Linked DNA regions of Homo sapiens: region 1 is linked to region 2. The links are contacts of gene promoters, found by promoter capture Hi-C in blood cells and fetal thymus (Javierre and others, 2016). All regions are on one chromosome and are shown on one strand. The core of a region is centred on a gene start or on the middle of the fragment in contact, and the rest is flanking DNA. Distances in the headings are between cores, read along the strand shown.

Evidence for each region. Contacts are between HindIII fragments. The CHiCAGO score rates a contact against its expected background, and 5 or more counts as called.
Region 1: a fragment that was not itself captured here is called in contact with the fragment with the promoter of AVPR1B in region 2 in 1 of 17 cell types (endothelial precursors); the score reaches 5.3 in endothelial precursors.

What each region holds. Positions count from the first base shown.
Region 1 is chr1:205,888,954-205,893,516 of GRCh38, reverse strand. It overlaps PM20D1-AS1 (PM20D1 antisense RNA 1), which reads right to left. Exons shown (of 3, transcript NR_046097.1): 2 at 2,208-2,361. Among named protein-coding and RNA genes, the nearest start is that of PM20D1-AS1, 29 kb to the right of the region's middle. The HindIII fragment of the contact is 1,546 bases long and covers 1,619-3,164 here.
Region 2 is chr1:206,115,470-206,119,694 of GRCh38, reverse strand. It overlaps AVPR1B (arginine vasopressin receptor 1B), which reads left to right and starts at 2,307. Exons shown (of 2, transcript NM_000707.5): 1 at 2,307-3,744. The coding sequence starts at 2,805. It overlaps AVPR1B-DT (AVPR1B divergent transcript), which reads right to left and starts at 1,912. Exons shown (of 3, transcript NR_186693.1): 1 at 1,870-1,912; 2 at 1,355-1,625. RefSeq lists a silencer at 1,193-1,487. The HindIII fragment of the contact is 5,056 bases long and covers 365-4,225 here.

The DNA of each region.
Region 1 (4,563 bases), core at 1,142-3,641, 230 kb after region 2:
ACTTGCAGTGGTTCTTTCAAAACTCGCAAATTTTTTCCTAGTCCAATACCAGGAACATACCCCATTATATGCATCATATGTTGACTTTGAGGGCTATATAATTGTTCTGGAATTAGAACTTGTACTCCCCATTGTTGTAATAAATCCCTTCCTCAGAAATTTATGGGTACAGAAGTTATAATTGGTTGAATAGTCCCAGGTTGTCCATCAGGCCCTTCACAATGCAAAATATAGCTACTTTGATATACTTCAGGGACTTTACCAACTCCAACTATTGGAGTTGAATTGAGTGGGTTGAATTGGCCATGCAGACGGCCAGTGCTGTAGAGAAAATGTCCACTCCTGTATCTACCAAACCTTTAAATTTATTTCCCTGAATAGTTATTTCACAGGTAGGATGTGTATCAGTAATTTGATTTACCCAATAAGCTGCTTTGCCTTGTTTATTTGTGCTTCCAAATCCTCCTGTTCATTTAATTTCACTTTTTCCCATTCCCACATATGACACAATCAGGAGCTGTGCTATGCACTCTCCTGGCTCTGCTTTCCAGGGAACAGAAGTAGATATAACAATTTGAATTTCCCCATTGTAATCTGAATCAATGACTCTTGTATGTATTTGTACCCCTTTTAAATTTAAACTAGAACTGCCTAGAACTAATCCTATTGTCCCTGCTGGCAAGGGACCACAGACTCCTGTTGGGACCTTTTGCAGGGGTTCCCCAGGCAGAAGACTCAGCATAAATCTACTGCAGCATAAATCTAGTGTGGCTCTACCAGCTGTGGTGGGGGACAGGCATTGTACAGGGGTGAGGGAATGACCCGAGCTGGAAATGCCCCAGTTTGGAATGGGGCCCAGGATGGGCCCCTCATGGCTTTTCCTGAAATCAGGTTCCCATCTTTATCAAACTTAGAGTGATTAGCCCAGTGTTTTCCTTTTTTACATTTTGGACATATTTCAGGCTCAGCAGTTTTCTTTTTTCCCCTATCTGGTGGCCCGACTTGCTGATTTTTTTCTACTTTTTTTTTTTTCAGTATGACCATGCTTCCCACAGTTAAAACAAGCTCCAGGAAATGGAGTACTTTCTGTATCCACTCTCAGTCCTGCCATTGCCCGTGCTAGCAGGTGGCCTGATGCAGATTACCTCTGATACCACCACAGGCCTTGATATAATCAACTAAATGTGCTTTCCCTCTGATAGGTCACAGAGCAGCCTGGCAATCAGGATTAGCATTGTTGAAAGCTAATAATTGCAACACTATATCCTGAGCAGCCAAATCTGCAGTCATCTTTTTAAGAGACTCCTGTAACTGAGCTATAAAATCCACATATGATTCTTCTGGTCCCTGTTTTATAGCACTAAAGAAAGGGTATTGTTCTCCACTTGAAGTGATTTTTTTTCCCCAAGCTCTAATGCACGCTCCTCTAAGCTGTTCTATGGCATCATCCTGCATGACCATTTGTGCATCTAAACCAGCCCAACTGCCAACCCCCAAAAGTTGGTCTGCAGTTATATTAATTTGAGGTTGGTCCTGCGTGTTGTGAGAAGCCTGAATGGAAGCTTCATCTGCCCACCAAGTTTTAAATTGTAAGAACTAAGCAGGAGTTAGACAAGCTTGAGTAAGAGCGTCCCAGTCAGTAGGAATCATCTGACTGGAAACAGCAATGTTCTTTAATAGTCCCATTACAAAAGGAGAACCTGGTCCATACTGATTAATAGCTTGTTTAAATTCTTTGAGTAATTTAAAACAAAAAGGCTCAAATGTAGCTACAATATTTCCCTGTTGGTCTGGGCAGTGTAGTCTAACAGGGAACTGCCAAGCCTCTTAATCACCTTCTCATCTAGCTTGCTGAATTCCTGACTGAATAGAACTAAGAGCAGTCGCTCGAGGTGCTGCTTGAACAGTCACTGGGGCAACTAATTTTTGCCCACTGTCCTCTGGAAAAGAAAGATCTGGAGGGTCAGGCCACTCTTTTTCTTCAAAATAATAATGAGGGGGTGCAGAAGGGTAGGGATGAACCTCTCCCTCCTTTGCCACTTTAGCTTTAGCTGGCAAATAAACCTGCTCTATAACCTCTTCTGTTACTTCATTATACTCTCCTTCTTCCTCATCATCAGTGTGAAAAAGTTCCAAGATGGAACGAACCAGACCCCACACTTGTCCCATTGTTACCCTGATGCTTCTGAGCTCCCCTTCTTACTCACCACGGGGTTTGCTTTAAGAGTACTCAGGTGTCCTCCAGCTAGTTCCATGTTCTCCAACCATCACTCTGGTGACCCTTCAACCTGGATTCGAGCCCCCATGATGGAGACCACTTGCTGAGACCAGCTTGGTCGGGGAGACTCTAACCCAGTGGCACTAGAGGAATTAAAGACACAGAAATATAGAGGAGTGAAGTAGGAAATCAAGGGTCTCACAGCCTTCAGAGCTGAGAGCCTCCAACAGAGGTTTACCCATGTATTTATTAACAGCAAGCTAGTCATTAGCATTCTTTCTATAGATATTAGATTAACTAAAATTATTCCTTATGGGAAATGAAGAGATGGGCTGAAATAAAGGGATGGGTTGGACTAGCTATCTGCAGCAGGAGCATGGCCTTAAGGCACAGATCACTCATGCTATTGTTTGTGGTTTAAGAATGCCTTTAAGCGGTTTTCCACCCTGGGTGGGCCAGGTGTTCCTTGCCCTCATTCTGGTAAACCCACAACCTTCCAGCGTGGGCGTTAAGACCATCATGTACATGTCACAGTGCTGCAGAGATTTTGTTTATGGCCAGTTTTGGGGCCAGTTTATGGCCAGGTTTTGGGGGGCCTGTTCCCCACAGAGAAGATGATAACCAGCATCATAAAAATATGTGAAACTATAAAAACTCACTGGTAAAGCTAACACATAGGGAGAAAGAGATAAGACTCAAATCTTATCCCTACAGAAAACTGCCCAACCACAAAAGTAAACAGTAAGAGAGGAAGGAACAAAGGATATACAAAACAAGCAGAAAATAATAGAATGCTAGATGTAAGTACTCACCTATCAAGAATAACGTTGCATGTAAATAGATTGAATTTTCCCATTTAAAAGATATAGACTGGGCTGACTCTCTTTTTGGACTCAACTCGTCTGCACCCAGGTGAAATAAACAGCCTTGTTGCTCACACAAAGCTTGTTTGGTGGTCTCTTCACATGGATGCATGACACATTTGGTGCCAAAGACCCAGGTCAGCAGGACTCCTTCAGGAGACTGTCCCCTGTCCTCACCCTCACTCCATGAAGAGATCCACCTACGACCTTTGGTCCTCAGACCAACCAGCCCAAGGAACATCTCACAAATTTTAAATCGGGTAAGTGGCCTCTTTTTACTCTCTTCTCCAACCTTTCTCACTATCCCTCAACCTCTTTCTCCTTTCATTCTTGGTGCCACCCTTCACTCCCTCTCTTCTCTTAATTTCAATTCCTTTCATTTTCTAGTAGAGACAAAGGAGACACATTTTATCCATGGACCCAAAACTCTGGTGCTGGTCATGTACTCAGGAAGGCAGCCTTCCCTTAGTGTTTAATCATTCCGGGGATGCCTGCCTGATTATTCACCCACATTCCATTGGCGTCTGATATCTTCAGGGATGCCTGCCTTGGTCATTCAACCACATTCCCTTGGTGGCAAGTCAATTGCGGGGATGCCTGCTTTGGCTGCTCACCCACATTGCAGCCCAGGGCTGCTCCCCAACCCTTTCTCCATGTCTCTACCTTTCTCTTTAAACTTGCCTCCTTCACTATGGGCAAACTTCCACCCTCCATTCCTCCTTCTTCTCCCTTAGCCTGTGTTCTCAAGAACTTAAAATTTCTTCAACTATCACCTGAACTAAAATCTAAATGTCTTATTTTCTTCTGCAACACTGCTTGGCCCCAATACAAACTCGACAATGGTTCTAAATGGCCAGAAAATGGCACTTTTGATTTCTCCATCCTCCGAGACCTAGATAATTTTTGTTGAAAAATGGGCAAATGGTCTGAGGTGCCTGACATCCAGGCCTTCTAATACACATTGGTCCCTCCCTAGTCTCTGTGCCCAATGCAACTCATCCCAAATCTTTCTTCTTTAGCTCCTGTCTGTTCCTTCAGTCTCCACCCCAAACTCTGAGTCCTTTGAATCCTTCTTTTCTACAGACTGATCTGACCTCTCCCCTTCTCCCCAGGCTGCTCCTCGCCAGGCCAAGCTAGGACCCAATTCTTCCTCAGCCTCTGCTCCCCCACCCTATAATCTTTCTATCACTTCCCCTCCTCACACCCAATCTGGCTTACAGTTTCGTTCTGCAACTAGCCCTCCCCCACCTGCCCAACAATTTCCTGTTAAAGAGGTGGCTGGAGCTAAAGGCATAGTCAAGGTTAATGCTCCTTTTTTTCTTTATCCGACCTCTCCCAAATCAGTTTTTAACATCAAATATAAAAACTCAGCCCAGTTCATGGCCCATTTGGCAACAACCCTTAGACGCTTTACTGCCCTAGACCCAGAGGGGCCAGAAGGCTATCTTATTCTCTATGCATTTTATTACCCAATCTGCTGCT
Region 2 (4,225 bases), core at 1,058-3,557:
GCCAGGCTGGTCTCGAACTCCCGACCTCAGGTGATCCGCCCACCTCGGCCTCCCAAAGTGCTGGGATTACAGACGTGAGCCACCATGCCCCACCATAATGTAGAGTTTAAAAAGCAATTTCCAGAATAGTACAATGTATCAATTATTGAGAGTAAGAGAATGGGGACAAGCATAGACAGCTGTTTTGAGAAGTTCTGCTGTGAAATGGTAGGGATTGTAATAGCTGGAAGTGGGAGTATAGTGGCTAAGGAGAGTTATAATTATTTTTTTAAATAAATATTACTACAGCTTGTTTGCAAATGGGTGGGAATGATCTGGTAGACAGAATGAAAATCATAAAGAGCAAAATCCTTGGGAAGGTGGAAGCTTGGGCTCCAAAGCACAGAAGGAGGATGCTACTATATTTTAGGCAGCTAAATGGTAAGTGGTCATGGGATGGAATGAAGGCGCTGAATTTGTAGGCTGTTGAGGAGGTAGAACCTTCAAGAAGTAATGCTAATTGGATGTCTGGTGACATTATAAAGGGGAGTCTGGTTAAAAGGCAGGACAAAGGCCAGATGCAGTGGCTCATGCCTGTAATCCTAGCACTTTGGGAAGCCGAGGCAGGTGGATCACCTGAAGTCAGGAGTTCGAGACCAGCCTGGCCAACATGGCGAAACCCCCCTCTACTAAAAATACAAAATTAGCTGGGCGTGGTTCGGGTGCCCGTGATCCCAGCTACTTGGGAGGCTGAGGAGGGAGAATCGCTTGAGCCTGGGAGGCAGAGGTTGCAGTGAGCCGAGATTGTGCCACTGCACTCCAGCCTGGCGACAGAGCAAGACTCTGTCTCAAAAAAAAAAAAAAAAAAAAAAAAAGCAAGACAAAAGGACTTCTCTCCTGTCACAGACTCTGCCCTTTCTGAGAGTCTGGGACCCTACTATTGTCACTCCTAAATTTTGTTTGTTTGTTTGTTTGTTTGTTTGTTTGTTTGTTTTTGAGACAGAGTTTCACTCTGTCGCCCAGGCTGGAGTGCAGTGGTGTGTTCTCGGCTCACTGCAAGCCCTGCCTCCCGGGTTCACGCCATTCTCCTGCCTCAGCCTCCCCAGTAGCTGGGACCACAGGCGCCCGCCACCACGCCCGGCTAATTTTTTGTATTTTTAGTAGAGATGGGGTTTCACCGTGTTAGCCAGGATGGTCTCGATCTCCTGACCTCGTGATCTGCCCGCCTCGGCCTCCCAAAGTGCTGGGATTACAGACGTGAGCCATCGCGCCCAGTCTGTCACTCCTAACTTCTAATCTGCTCTAGGGAGAGTCCCAATAGTCCATCTTGCATACTGAAGATTAAGTGAATTTCACAGCCAACACCACACAATACCTTCTCTATTGAGCTGTAAGCTGCCTCTGGACTGGATGGTGTTTTGTTTTTATTTTTACCGTCAGCACCAGTGCCTCTCACATAGAATTTAGCCAAGCCGGTTAGGTGTTAAGTGCTGCTGCTGCGCTGTCAGAAGGGCACACGGGGCTGGTTCTAGACCGGCCTCTGCTGCTTACTCGTTCAGTAATCTTCTACAGCAAGTTCTTGAACTTCTCTGGGCCTGTTTTCTACCTCGCCGAGTGGTTAACTGCGTTTAGGATCTTGGAAGCACCTAAGCACGAAAAGCACATAGGCCAGAAGTTAAGATGTCCCTTGGGGACGCAAATACCGGGAATTTCTCCGGCTGTTCCCACCGATCAAGCACCAGGGCTCTCAGGTCTAGCTCCTTCGTCTCCCCACCCCCACATATACCCTCACTTTTTCTTCCTTTCCCTATGCCTCGCAGTCCCTCAACAGGGTCTGCGGTCAGACGTCACTCCCAGGTGACTGGCAATCAGGGATGCCGCCTCGCTCACCTGGCCACCCTTGAAGATTGTGGATCCTGCACCGGCTAGCCGGCTGGCAGAGGGCGCGCCAACAGCCGCCAGCCGAAGTGCCCCCGCGTAGGTGGGAGGAGTGACTGCCTCTCACCATCCCCCGGGGATGCACCTGTGGAGAGACGGCCCGAGAGTTCCAGGGTGAGTGCGCAGAGGAGCTTATCTGCCTGCCTGCGGGTCGGTGTGTCCTGCCGGCTGCTGGGCGCTGGCCTGCGTCGCCTGCTTGTCTCGCTCCCTGTCCCTCGTCCGCTACCCCCTCTGCCCCCCCTCCCTCCAGCAGCCGGCCTCTCGGTCATCCCGCCGGGTGGGTGCCTGCGAACCTCACTCCTCCCTCCTCTGCAGGAGCCAACTGGCGAGCCGCAGGCCGCCGGGCTCGGCCTGGGAGCCCATAAAACCCGCCCGAGCCGCGCCGCTGCGCTCCAGCCGCTGCTCACCAGGCAGAGCGAGCGGGCTTGGCTGGGGCTTCCTGCCCTGAGCGCGACACCGACTGCCCCGGACCGCGCCTCCAAGCAGGCTGAAGGGCTTCCGCTCTTGGCTTCCAGAAAAGTTTGGAGAAAGAGAATTTGAGGCGGATTGGAGGGTGGTAGCCCCTCCCCAGCCTTCTTTCCCTCCCAGAAGCCTCACTCTGCACAGCGTCCCCCATTCTTCCCGTCCTGATTCCCCATCTTCCTGACCCCTCCTTCTCCCTCTCCTGGGTCGATCCCAGTCACATTTTCTCCTTCCGAATCTCATCCTCCCTCCTCCTCTCTATCCCAGTCCTCTGAACGATTTCCGCCTATTTGCAAGCCTTCTCCCTGTCATTCTCAACGCTTCTCCTTTCTCTCCACCTCCCCTGCCACTCCATTTTATCCATCAAACCTCTCCACTTGCATCCACACCCTCCCTTCATCCTTCCCTCCCAGCAAACCTTGCTCATGGATTCTGGGCCTCTGTGGGATGCCAACCCCACCCCTCGGGGCACCCTCTCTGCCCCCAATGCCACAACACCCTGGCTGGGCCGGGATGAGGAGCTGGCCAAGGTGGAGATCGGAGTCCTGGCCACTGTCCTGGTGCTGGCGACCGGGGGCAACCTGGCTGTGCTGCTGACCCTGGGCCAGCTGGGCCGCAAGCGCTCCCGCATGCACCTGTTCGTGCTGCACTTAGCCCTGACAGACCTGGCCGTGGCGCTCTTCCAGGTGCTGCCACAGCTGCTGTGGGACATCACCTACCGCTTCCAGGGCCCCGACCTCCTGTGCAGGGCCGTCAAGTACCTGCAGGTGCTCAGCATGTTTGCCTCCACCTACATGCTGCTGGCCATGACGCTGGACCGCTACCTGGCTGTCTGTCACCCCCTGCGCAGCCTCCAGCAGCCAGGCCAGTCCACCTACCTGCTCATCGCTGCTCCCTGGCTGCTGGCCGCCATCTTCAGCCTCCCTCAAGTCTTCATTTTTTCCCTGCGGGAGGTGATCCAGGGCTCAGGGGTGCTGGACTGCTGGGCAGACTTCGGCTTCCCTTGGGGGCCACGGGCCTACCTCACCTGGACCACCCTGGCTATCTTCGTTCTGCCGGTGACCATGCTCACGGCCTGCTACAGCCTCATCTGCCATGAGATCTGTAAAAACCTAAAAGTCAAGACACAGGCCTGGCGGGTGGGAGGAGGGGGCTGGAGGACTTGGGACAGGCCCTCACCTTCCACCTTAGCTGCCACCACTCGGGGGCTGCCATCTCGGGTCAGCAGCATCAACACCATCTCACGGGCCAAGATCCGAACAGTGAAGATGACCTTTGTCATCGTGCTGGCCTACATCGCTTGCTGGGCTCCCTTCTTCAGTGTCCAGATGTGGTCCGTGTGGGACAAGAATGCCCCTGATGAAGGCAAGTGGGGTCTATGTGGGGGCAGTGAGGTGGGAGAGACAGAAAGAGAGGATGGGGGATTAGGTCAGGGTTACAATGCCTCCCAGGGCCAGGCAGGTGACAAACTAGTGGGGCAATGAAGGAAGATGGTGCCTGCTCCAAGTGAAAAGGGGCAGTTATGATTTCCATTCAGCCTACCGATGCCATGTCAGTATCTTTTACGTGAAATTTCCAGCTTTAAAAATTTTGGTAACTAACAATTTTAAAATACTAGGTGGTACTAATGAAATATGACCATTAGCACATTTGGCCACCAACTACTAGTTTGCTAGATGGGCTTTAAAATCATAGAATGATAGCAATTTGTGGCCCATGAACTTGCTCTCTCAGCCTTGTCCCTCCTGCACCTGGACATGCCTTTGAGCTCCTTCTCAACAGACACTTCCAGTTAATTAGGGTTGGCACATGAAAACCCTGAAATTTCCAGTTCAACCTCTTCATG